Linked DNA regions of Homo sapiens: region 2 is linked to region 1. The links are contacts of gene promoters, found by promoter capture Hi-C in blood cells and fetal thymus (Javierre and others, 2016). All regions are on one chromosome and are shown on one strand. The core of a region is centred on a gene start or on the middle of the fragment in contact, and the rest is flanking DNA. Distances in the headings are between cores, read along the strand shown.

The links. Contacts are between HindIII fragments. The CHiCAGO score rates a contact against its expected background, and 5 or more counts as called.
Region 2: a contact is called between a fragment that was not itself captured here and the fragment with the promoter of ZRANB2 in region 1, in 1 of 17 cell types (total CD4 T cells). The highest score is 5.2, in total CD4 T cells.

What each region holds. Positions count from the first base shown.
Region 1 is chr1:71,077,978-71,084,266 of GRCh38, reverse strand. ZRANB2 (zinc finger RANBP2-type containing 2) reads left to right here and starts at 3,232. Exons shown (of 10, transcript NM_203350.3): 1 at 3,232-3,327; 2 at 5,559-5,611; 3 at 5,702-5,810. The coding sequence starts at 3,272. ZRANB2-DT (ZRANB2 divergent transcript) reads right to left here and starts at 2,943. Exons shown (of 4, transcript NR_046217.1): 1 at 2,854-2,943. RefSeq lists an enhancer at 2,993-3,282. The HindIII fragment of the contact is 3,322 bases long and covers 56-3,377 here.
Region 2 is chr1:68,490,389-68,496,677 of GRCh38, reverse strand. DEPDC1 (DEP domain containing 1) reads left to right here. Exons shown (of 12, transcript NM_001114120.3): 2 at 1,983-2,248. DEPDC1-AS1 (DEPDC1 antisense RNA 1) reads right to left here and starts at 2. Exons shown (of 3, transcript NR_110671.1): 1 at 1-2. The HindIII fragment of the contact is 7,663 bases long and covers 118-6,289 here.

The DNA.
Region 1 (6,289 bases), core at 1,983-4,482:
TAAACATATGACAATTTATTTATCTAGGCTACCACTGATAAGCAATTGGGAAGCTTCCAGTTTGGGCTATTTTGAATAGTACAGCTCTGAACATTACTATATACATCTTCAGTGAACATTATGTGCATTCCTGTTGGTAATATACCTAAAAATGGAATTTCAGGGTCATAGTGTACGAAAATGTTCAGATTTAATATATTCCGACATTTTCCAAAGTAGATGTATCAATTACTTTTTGCAATGTATGAGAATTACAGTTGCTCTACATGCTTTCCAACACTTAGTATTCTCTGATTTTTCATTTTAGTCAGTTTGATGAATGCATAATGGTATCATATGGTTTTAATTTGCATTCCCCTGACTTGCAGTACCAACCAAGACATAGAAAGCCCACAATAACCTATCTTTCCTAATGATTACAGTGAGAAACTCAAGACAAAATACCAAAAGCAACTGCCTGAAGACTCTGGAAAAACAAAAACAAAAACAGGTAAATTGGAGTGGAGAATGAAAACCTGGAGAAATGTTCTGTATGTTTGCTTTTCCTCTTTTCTCACAGCTTTTGACCTAAGGCCCAACACCTAGTGAAACTGTGGTGACAGGAAAAACCGACAGAAACCTGTATGTCTTGCCAGAATGGGGATAGGGGGCTTTTGTGAGCCAAAAGTTAGTCGGGGGAATACTTAGCTCCCCCTCTTCTGGTTTTTCTTTCTTTTTTTTAATTTCTCTCTCTCTCTCTCTCTCTCTCTCTCTCTCTGGGCATTGGCCCAAGAGTGAGGCCCTAGGCTTGGGTATCTACAATACTAACAGAAGCTCTGTTTTTATGGACAAAGGAAGTAGAAAAGGAGGCCTTTGTGGTCTGAAGAGTGTAGAGGGAATCCACATTTTTTCTCTCTCTTTTCTGTCACTGCTTTGTCTCAGAATCTGCCCTAGTCAGCTGCTATGCCAGGCTGCTAAAACTCCAAGAGGAACCTCATATTTCTGGTGAGAGGACCTTGCGAGACAAAAGGAGAAGAATGTAAGAGGAGAGAGCTAGAGAAGAGGATCCCCTAATTCTATGTATGAACCTATACAAGTTCTGTGTTCACACCTAAACTGAACACGTGCAGAACAAACACAAAATAGCATAGCAAAACTGAATTTCAATTTAAACTACTGCTAACATCCCCAAATAATCCCTGAGTATTGTAGGTATAGGACACAGCAAAGCCTTTGAAAACCCAGCTGACATGGAACCAGTACTCATAGAAGATGAGACCGAACTTTTGACCTGAACCAAATTGGATCGATTGCCTTCTAAAACAAAAAAAAATCAACATTCCCTAAAGGCTTTTAACAGGACTCAGTCTATGCAACATAATGTTCAAAATGTCCTAGATAAAATCCACAATTACACAGTATAAAAGAACTGGAAAAATGTGACCAACTTGCAAGGGAAAATATAATCAACACCTGCTAACTCCTAGATGACCAAAATGTTATAATACAGATTTTAAAGCAACAATCATAACTAGAGAGTAGTTGAACAATTTCTCTCCTAAACATAATCATACTTGCATAAAGACATTTCAGTCAATGATGAACCACATATACAAAGGTGGTCCCATAAGATTACAATACCATATTTTTACTGTACCTTTATATTTAGATACACAAATACCACTGCGTTACAACTGCCTACAGTATTTAGTACAATAAGATGTACTAAATGCAGGTTTGTAGTCTAGGAGCAATAGGCTATACCATATAGCCTAGGTGTGTAGTAGGCTATACCTGCTAGGCCTGTGTAAGCACATTCTATGATGTTCACACAACAGCACAATTGCCGAAAGTGGCATTTCTCAGAACATATCCCTATCATTAAGTGAGGCATGACTGTATATGCTGTATTCTAAAAAAAATTAATGCATTTATATACCAGAATCTATGCATAAGAATGCTCATACTGGTGTTGTTTGTAATACCAAGCCTGAGAAACAGAAGGAATAAACTGTCACAAAACCACAAAACGGAATAGTATCAGTATACATCAGTGCAAATAAAAGAATTACACCTATACACTTCTACATGCAACTACCTAGGATTAATTTAGAAGCATAATGAACAAAAAAAGAGTACAGAATCAACTATGCTTACACAGCTCATAAAATTAAACATACATGTATGTTAGGTTTTGAAGGGAAGGCAAGGATTAAAGAAAGAGAGGGTGGCTTAACAACAAATACAGGATTTATGTCCAGCATAAGACCTACAGAGGTGGGAGACCAGCTTAATGCCAGTGCCCGTTGCTTCTTACAGGCTGGGGTGATTTATAGGCCTGGGTGGGAGTGGTCTGGGGGGCCATGGCCTGCTTCCTGGGAACATGTTGATAAGGTGTTCCCAGGACGAGGCGGCTCTGGCCCTTGTTCCAGTGGAATGTGGTACTTTCTCCCAGCAGAGTATAAGAGGCAGCCTGTTTCTCACGCCCGAACCCCGTGGAATGTTTCACTTTGACTAAGGTCTGCAAAATGGCAGGGGGGCTTACAAAAATGGTGCAGTTTGGACTAACAACGTACATAAATTTTTAAAAAGCAAAAGAATAAATCCCAAATATGGGAAAGTGTTATCTGTGGAAGAAAGTAATGGGATGGTATCAGAAAAGACACTGGTAATTTAAACAGTGTTGACAATGTCTCAGTTTTAAAATTACCAGCTGGTTCCCATGTATAAGTTGCTTACTTATCTGTTACACCTATTTATGTATATATAAAAATAGGTTTCCAAACGACATCCCATGTGTATGAAATAACAGAATTTTTATGCCTTATTAAAATAATTTCTCTAAACACTTGAAGAGCCCGAGCCGCCTCTTACCCTAAACGAACCCCACGCCCCTGAATTGATCAGTCACTTCCGCCTCCACCTTTCCAGCTCCACCTAAGGAAGCGGAAGTACTTTACTCTTGGGTCCTCCCACCTGTAGGGGGCTCTCCGAGGCTTCTAGTGCCACGAAGGCCTCCTGCCTGGGTTGTCCTTATGGCGCCTGTGAGTTTAGTTCTAGAAAAGATATTTGTATTTTAACTTTTCCATCTAACAAACAGTAGCACAGGCATCTTAGTCTGGACAACAACGTACAAGCTGAATTCCTGGCTAGTTCCCTCATTATCAAACCCTGACACAGTAGTAGGCGCGAGTCAGGCAGTGTGGGGACAGCCCCGAGTTGCCGAAAGTCCCCGGCCCGTTTTCCTCCTGTGAAGACATAGCTGCGGGTGGCTGTGCTGGTGGCGTTCAAGATGTCGACCAAGAATTTCCGAGTCAGTGACGGGGACTGGATTTGCCCTGACAAAAAGTGAGTTCAAGAAGGGTCCTGAATTGGGACGGAGTTTGTTAGTGGAAGCTTTCCGAGGTCCGTCCGGCATTTTCCTTTTTTATGATTTTCTGTGCCTTAAGACGGGTTGAGGCGGCGAACCGCCAGTTCCCTGGCGGGAAGAAGGCTCCCAATCTCCTCACGAGAGAGGTCTTTCCGGGAGCCTTTGTTCTAGATATGTCTTCAGCGTTTCCTCGACATTACCTCCGCAAGGTAGCCTCTCTTTTTAGAGTGCGAGATGGCCTACCTTTTTGCCCCCACCCCCCTCCCCCGCCCCGGCCAGGTTTTAGCGATAGGAAACCTCTCCAGTCAGGCCAGCTTGGTGTTGGATCTCCCCCACGTGACTTTTCTCTGCAGAACTTTACTCTTGTTCACGGAAAATATTGCTTTCTCGCACTCGTCCTTTTGCCTCTTATAGTTCACCTTGTTTTGTATTTTTACTCAAACTTTTCCTCCATACTATTTTCCCCTTTTCCGGAAGCTCTACCCTCTTCGGTTTGGGAAATTCTGACATTTTCTTTGTGGATCATTTCTCCACAAGAATTGGGCTTTTCGCCTCCTTAGAGCCGAAAAGGAGGGAAGAGGCCTGTGTTTTTGCCTACTCAGCCCTTAAGATGCCTGCAGCAGAGAAGCACGTGTGTTAGTGGCTCTGCTTTTTGACATTGTTGCCAAAGCCAGTACTCGACTAGATAGTTAATCAGATTTTTTTTGAAGGGTGCACAAATAGGTGTATCTATTCGGAAATAACATGGAAAATAATTTAATGTACAACTCATGTTCACATAAAAGCCTTTTATTTGTTGTACCTAAGTTAGCCACAAATAGGTTTTGATTGTAAAAAGCAAAAACTTTGAAATAAACCTGGGTTTAGTTAAAATTCTATTACTTATTTAACTGCTAAAAAAGGAATAGAATTTTTTTTTTAATGAAAACATGAAATAACATGGATAGGGTGTGTAAACAGTGACGTGTAGCAAATTCTAATTGGTGGCTATTGATAGTAATTTGATATTAAGATGACCTGAAGGAGTAGTTCAAGCCTAACAAATGATACTGAATAGAACCAAAGTTATATGTTATGGATAGTATTGCTCTGAGTGGTAAGACATTATTGAAAACGTTCAAAAGATTTAGAACAACAACTTCTGACTTTGTTGTTACCTGTAAAATAATGTGCTTTTGTCAGTGTCTTTAATGACAGCACACCCAGAGGTAGGACTCTCAATGAGAGTTCATTTCAACTCATTTACAAATATATGAATAGAATGTTGTTTGTACAATATGTTTAAATGCAGGATAAATTTTCAGAGTATATTTTCCATGCTTAATGGAGTTAAAAGGAATATTTTTAGGGGAAAAACTTAACCTAAATATTATTTAGAGTGTTTCACTTTAGTGTCATCCCATACTTCACATCTGTATTGTATTCTAGTATAATGCCTTAAAAATCAGCTTTTTAAAGTTTAAGCATTCCATGTTATCCAGAGCATTTAACATACTTTTACCAATATACACGTACACTTCTAAGGTCATGTGAGTGAACCAGTAATTCTTTAGGTTTGAGTTTGTTGAGTATAAGCATAAAGTCTTACTGTACTACATGTGTTGAGATTATTGGTTTTGGTGGTTGTGTCATTTTTTTCAGCGAAGTCTCAGAGGTTTGAGAAATGCCCTGTAAAACTCAGTTTTCTTACAATTATTGAATCTTTTTGTATTTTTAGTCAGTACAACCTATCATATTTGGTTCCTTAGCATCCTACCTACTGCATGTAAAAAGATAATTTCATTAAGATCCATGAAGCCCTCCTTGATTTATAAGTTTTTTTCCTCATTGGTCCACCGCTAGGGTTTAAAACTCCCTGGTAGCTTGTAAGTAATTAGTGAAGTGGAGTTAACTCTCACTTTCAACTTTGTAAAGGGATTATAACTAATGATATGTGCTAATGTGAGGACTTGAGGCAGAGATCCTAAGTAACTTAATCAAGATCACATGACTGGTAAATGGAGGATTGGGATATCTTATTCTGAATTTGTGGCTCCAATCAAGTATTTTTCCCCCAGTAAATTGTGTGGAGTTTTTTGTTGGTAACATTGACATTAACATGACTAAGATGGATTAGAAGTTATGAATTCCAGATATGTAGTGAGGACAAGTTAAAATGTAAAATTTTACAAATTTAAATTTTTATAAATGCTTTTTAATCTGTTTTTAGATGTGGAAATGTAAACTTTGCTAGAAGAACCAGCTGTAATCGATGTGGTCGGGGTAAGTATTTAAAGAAGATTCTATTTATACTGTATATGTATCATTTATTTATTTCTCCAGGTTCATATTGCATGATTTTTCTGTTTTCAGAGAAAACAACTGAGGCCAAGATGATGAAAGCTGGGGGCACTGAAATAGGAAAGACACTTGCAGAAAAGAGCCGAGGCCTATTTAGTGCTAATGACTGGCAATGTAAAACGTATGTTTTTTAAATTATTGTCTGCTCTTTCTTCCAAAATAATAGATCTGGCCACTACTTGTTTATATTACAGCTCTTATTAGTGACATTGACAAGCCAGGGTAACCTTTTAAATCCAAGGTATTGTTATTCAGTCTCATCTTTAAGTATAGTATAAAGAAGTTTTAAATTATTCTTTGCATTTTTTAATGGTAATAGTTGTCACTATGATGGATTATGTATACCAGTAAACAAATGCTTATGGTAAGCTCAAAACCAATCGGGGGGTGGTGGTACTTAAAAGTACTAAGGCCTATTACTTCCTTTATTGAAAAATCCCAATTTTTAGACTGTATAGTTAGTGTGAAATACACCACAAAACTCATTTTGCCTGTTTACAAAATAATGTTAGATTCATAAGTTGTGTGCCGTAAGTAATTAAGTCTAATTATAGGTAGGTTTCTTAATGATTTTTATTTTCAGGCTTAGATTTAATTCTT
Region 2 (6,289 bases), core at 2,700-5,199, 2.6 Mb after region 1:
CTGGTGTGGCCGGCGTCCCGTGGGGGCGTCTTAGAATATTCCGATTTGGCCGCTCACCTCGCCTGATTTTCTACCCGCCTCAGAATTAGGGAACAATTGGGAATGAGGTCCAAAGCTTTGTAGGGTTAGGTGGGGGGCAAGCCCGAATGTGGCAATTTTGTTTATTGAACCCATAGAATTTAACGCAGGATGTATCGGCCGAATAGCACTAGGATAACAGCTGCCTGTTTCAAAACGGTATTTCTGAGTACCCATCAGTAACCACTGCTGGTGGTCCCTGAATTGCACGTACAGCACTCCTAACGCGTTTTGTGCAGTTGGGTCTTCGGTTCTATAGGATACTGTGGTGCTGGTTATGTGACGTTAGGTGAGTCCCCTACCTTCTGTGAGCCTGTTTCCACATTGGTAAAGGTTACTAATACATGCTTGCCTTAAGGGGTTTCCCAGGAGGATGCTGTTTTTTAAAGTGTGTTGTGATCTGCAGAATAACAAGCATTTTCCTCTTAGGAATGCCCTTCAGACGAGCATGTATTATTAGCCCTACTTTATCAGGTGCACACTGAGGCTCACAGACGTTAAATGCCCTCTAGAGTCACATCAACAGCAAGTGGCAGAGCTAGAATTCAGATCTTCCTGGTATGGCGATCTTACATGGATTCTGCTACTTAGTAAGTTATTGGCTATATTTACCAATATGAAGGATAGAATTTAGGACAGGAAGGAACCTCAATCAGTAGTCCTGCCACATTATTTAAAACCCATTAGATGAAAGTAGTATAAGCACGCTGAAAAAGAAAACATGCACTGAATGCTTACTAGTACTTCACATATATTACATCATTTTATCATTCCAATAAGCCCATTCGTTAGGTCCTTTTGTCCCTGTTTTGTGGTTAAGGAGATTGAGGCATAGAGATTGAAGATAGGCCCAAAAAGTCATAAACAATAGTGGCAGAGCTAGAGCTGGGAAACCAGCCCTACTAGTCTAACTCCAGAGCCTGTTCTTAAAGCCACTACCCTGTACTGCATCTCAGGAAAGCCGTTCTGTAATCTCCCTTAGTACAGAGTCCCTTTCTGTCATTTTTATTACTGTGTCCTCAGGCCAGTACAGAGTGAGCAGCTCAATATCAGTTTCTAGAGTCAATCACACCTGGGTTTGAATGCCTAGGTTCATCACTTAGCTGTGTGACCTTGGTCATTTTATTAATCTCTCTGCTTTATTTTCCTTATGTGAAAAATGAGAAATTAATAGTACCTATTCATAGAATTGGGGTAATTAAAGTGAAATAATGAATGTGAAGCACAGTGCTACCAACATTAATATTAATTGAGGTAAAAAACAGGGATGAATGTTTTCTCTATTGATTGTAGTTCTTCCTTATTTCCAGATTTCTTAAATAAGCTCAGGATCTTAAATAAGGATCTTAGATCAGCCAATGAAGTTCTTCTAATAAAAAAGCTATTACATAAAAATATTACTACAGCACTAGAATTAATAAAAAGAAAGCAGTGTAAGATATAATTTTTTTTTTTTTGAGACTGAGTTTTGCTCTTGTTGCCAAGGCTAGAGTGCAATGGTGCAATCTCAGCTCACCGCAACCTCCGCCTCCCAGGTTCAAGTGATTCTCCTGACTCAGCCTCCTGAGTAGCTGGGATTATAGGCATGCACCACTATGCCCAGCTAATTTTGTATTTTTAGTAGAGACGGAGTTTCTCCATATTGGTCAGGCTGGTCTCGAACTCCCGACCTCCGGTGATCCACCCGCATCGGCCTCCCAAAGTGCTGGGATTACAGGCATGAGCCACCGTGCCCGGCCAGATATAAAATTTTATATGGCACAAATAAGATGAATGATTCTTCAAGAATTTTTATGATATAATCAGATGTGAATTAAAGAATTTTCTTTACCTAATGTACTTCAAATCAATATGAGATTTAATTTTTCTTCAATTTTTTAAAAATATTTTCCTTCTTTTTACAGTGGAATGAAGTTACCACATCTTTTCGAGCAGGAATGCCTCTAAGAAAACACAGACAACACTTTAAAAAATATGGCAATTGTTTCACAGCAGGAGAAGCAGTGGATTGGCTTTATGACCTATTAAGAAATAATAGCAATTTTGGTCCTGAAGTTACAAGGCAACAGACTATCCAACTGTTGAGGAAATTTCTTAAGAATCATGTAATTGAAGATATCAAAGGGAGGTGGGGATCAGAAAATGTTGATGATAACAACCAGCTCTTCAGGTAATGAACAGATATGTAACTGTAAAACTGAATTACTGTAAAGTTTTATCTCTACTTATATTATACTTTTACTATAACAGCAGCTTCTTCAAAGAAGTTTTATTTCTTTGGAAAACTATTAATGCTGTTAGTTCAACTAAAATCATTTAGAAAAATTGTAATGTGAAAGTTAATTGCTACAAAATTTAAAGTTTTTAAGTGTTAGCATATATAATAAAGTAGGGAATTGGAAGGGAAATACTGATGTATTATCACTTCCGCATATTCTGAACACTTTATAACATTTTAAGGACATATTACTGACCTTTAGTTGCATAGTTTCTAGATTATAAGTTCACAGATCCTTCCCTTCAAACATATAATTTAATTTAAGAATACATGTAATAGGATAATAGCAAATCTTACATAATAAATAACAGACAAATAACAGGACCAGGTAAAGTGGCTCATGCCTGTAATCCCAGCACTTTGGGAGGCTGAGGTGGGCGGATCAACTTGAAGCTAGGAGTTTGAGACCAGCCTGGCTAACATGGTGAAACCCCGTCTCTACTAAAAATACAAAAAATGAGTTGGGTGTAGTAGCACACACCTGAGACTGAGGCACGAGAACTGCTTGAGCCTGGGAGGTGGAGGTTGCAGTGAGCTGAGATTGCACCACTGCACTCCAGCTTGGGCGACAGAGCAAGACTATCTCAAAAAATAACAATGATAACAGAAGAAATATACCACAGGTTAAAGAGAATATTTATTAAGCAGTTAAGATATAACAGAAACTCTGTTTGATGATTTACATATGTGTTCTTACTTAATTGCTATAGTAGCCAAGCAGGGTAGGTATTAACCCCTTTTAACAGATGGGGAAACTGAGACCATGCTTCAACAAATCTTGTTCTGTCTGCCTGAAATGTTTTTCCACCGTGAGACACTGTACACATTTGTCAGGCTAGTAAACTTATACATTTCTTTTAATCTCAGCTCCTTTATAGCCTCTTCTGTGGAGCTTTTCTGATTCCCACAGGTCAGCATAATTGCTTTTTCTCTTATGACCTACGGTTCTTTGTTATGTATCCATTAAACTAGGCCTGTGGAATCTAATGCCCATGCTTTTTTTTTCCTACAACATTAGGTACTTTTCAAATGAAATGTCTAAGAATTTATTGTTTCCTATGTACCAAAAATGATTTATGTCATACAAGTAAACTACAATAACAATCATATGAATAATCCATTTTGTATAGCACTCTACAAATCTTCCCTCTCTTAACTACTCCCCAGTTATCTTTGTGGGCTCCTTTACTGCTGCTCATCCTTTAACTCTCCCATCTTCAAGTTCCTGCCCTTGTCCTTACTTCACCTTCTCCCTAGGCAATCTCATGCCATGTCTTCGCCTACTTTTCTTAAGACTTTCAGGCCTCTCCTGAAATATCTTTCCTGAGCTTTCGGCCCATGTTTTTTCATCTGCCTCCTGGAAAGGCACTTCAAATAAACCATATAGAAAAATGACTATCACCCTCTAACCTAAGTTTTGTCTTCTTAGGTTTCCTATCTGAATAAATTGCATTGCCTTCCCTATAGTTGCCTTGATTCTTTCCCTTTCTTGTCCTTTAAATATGATTTAGTCTATTGTGCTCCCTAAGTAGTTCTCTGATCTGTACACATCTCTCTCCAAGATGAATCTTCTTTTTGTTAGGCTATAATTCTTACCTGGATTTCTCTTTATTTGTTTTGCTTTTGTTTTACCTGGATTTCTGCATAAATCCTCAACTAGTCTCTCTGCCCCTAGTCTTTTCTGCCTCCTGGGTTCAAGCTATCCTCCCACCTCAGCCTCCAAAGTAGTGGGGACTACAGGCACACACCACCACGCCCAGCTAATTTTTGAATTTTTTGTGGACACGGGGTTTCACTATGTTGCCCAGGCTGGTCTCAAACTCCTGAGCTCAAGGGATCCACCCACCTTGACCTTCCAAAGTGCTGGGATTACAGGCATGAGCCACCACGCCCGGCCTCTCCTAGTCTTTTACGATCGTAACAAAACTATAAAGTACATAAAAATAAAGTTTACCAAAAATGTGTAAGACCTTATTGGAGAAAAGTATTAAATTGTATTAAATAGAATAAATGGAGAAAGATACCCTGTTCATGAATGAAAATACTTAGTACATGTATATACAAGTCAATTCCTCCCAAATTGAAATAGAAATTCAGTGCATTTTCATTCAAAACTTCAATATAGTTTCTTTGTGGAACTTGATAAGCAGATTCTAAAATTCATTTGGTAAAAGTCTAAGAGAATTTTGAAGACCAAGGTCAAACTTCTGAGGTGTTCAAACTTTTGAGGTCACTACAAACTTTTTGAATAAATTTGATGTATGGGGCCAGGCAGAGTGGCTCACACCTGTAATCCCAGCACTTTTGGAGGCCAAGACAGGAGGATCACTTGAACCCAGGAGTTCGAGACCAGTCTGGATAACATAGGGAGACCCTGTCTCTACAAAAAAAAAAAAAAAAATTAATTAGCCAGGCATGGTGGCATATGCCTGTGGTCTCATCTACTTGGGAGGCCGAGCCCGGGAGGTTGAGACTGTAGTCAGCCGTGATCACACTACTGCACTCCATCCTGGGTGACAGAGTAAAACTTGGAGAAGAAAAAAAAATTGATATATGGTAAAAGATATGATAAAGTGAAAAAACACCAAACCACATATTGTTTATATACATTTATTAAAAGTATAAAAGCATGGAAAAGAAATACAACTATAGGTTTATTTTATGAAACTGTAAGTTTATATTTTACTCTCCCTTAGAGGGAGATATGAATGAGCAAAGAATTTCATTTTTTTTAAAAAAGGAGTTATTTACACTCCCACCAACAGTGTATAAACATTCCATTTTCTCCGCAACCTTGCCAGCACCTGTTATTTTTTTGTTTTTTAATAGTGTCCATTCTGACTGGTGTGAGATGGTATCTCATTATAGTTTTGATTTACATTTCTCCAATCAGTAATATTGAACTTTTTTCATATGCTTGTTGGCTGCATATATGTCTTCTTTTGAAAAGTGTCAGTTCATGTCCTTTGCCCCCTTTTTAATGGAGTTGCTTTTAAATTTAAGTTCCTTGTAAATGCTGGATACTAGACCTTTGTCAGATTCATAGTTTGCAAAAATTTTCTCCCATTCGATAGGTTGTCTGTTGACTCCATTGATAGTTTTCTTTTGCTGTGTAGCTCCTTCATGTAACTACAGTCCATTTGTCAATTTTTGCTTTTGTTGCAACTGCTTTTAGCATCTTCATCATGAAATCTTTGCCCATTCTAATGTCCAGAATGATATTGCCTAGGTTTTCTTCCAGGTTTTTTATAGTTTTGGGTTTTACACTTAACTCTTTAATCCATGTTGAGTTAATTTTTGTATATGGTGTAAGAAGGTGTCCCATTTCAATCTTCGGCATGTAACTTACCAGTTATCCCAGCACTATTTGTTAAATAGGAAATCATTTCCCCCATTGCTTGTTTTTGTCAGCTTTGCTGAAGATCAGTTGGTTGTAGGTGCATGGCCTTATTTCTGGGCTCTGTATTCTGTTTCATTAGTCTATGTGTTGGTTTTTATACCAGTACCATTTTGTTTTGGTTACTACAGGCCTGTAGTATAGTTTGAATTCTGGTAGCATGATGCCTCCAGCTTTGTTCTTTTTTCTTAGGATAGCCTTGGCTATTTGGGCTCTTTTTGGTTCCATATGAGTTGTGGACAACAGTATAATGATTCATTAAAATCCTAAAACCAAAACTACCATTTAACCTAACAATCCCTTTACTAGGTATATACCCTAAGGAATATAAATCATTCTGTCATGAAGACACATGTACACGTATGTTCATTGCAGCAGTATTCACAATAGCAAAGACAATGAGTCAACCTGAATGTCCCTCAGTGGTATACTGGATGAAGAAAATGTGTACATATACACCATGGAATAGTATGCAGCCATAAAAAAGAATGAGTTCATGTACTTTGCAGGAACATAGATGGAGGTGGAGGCAAACT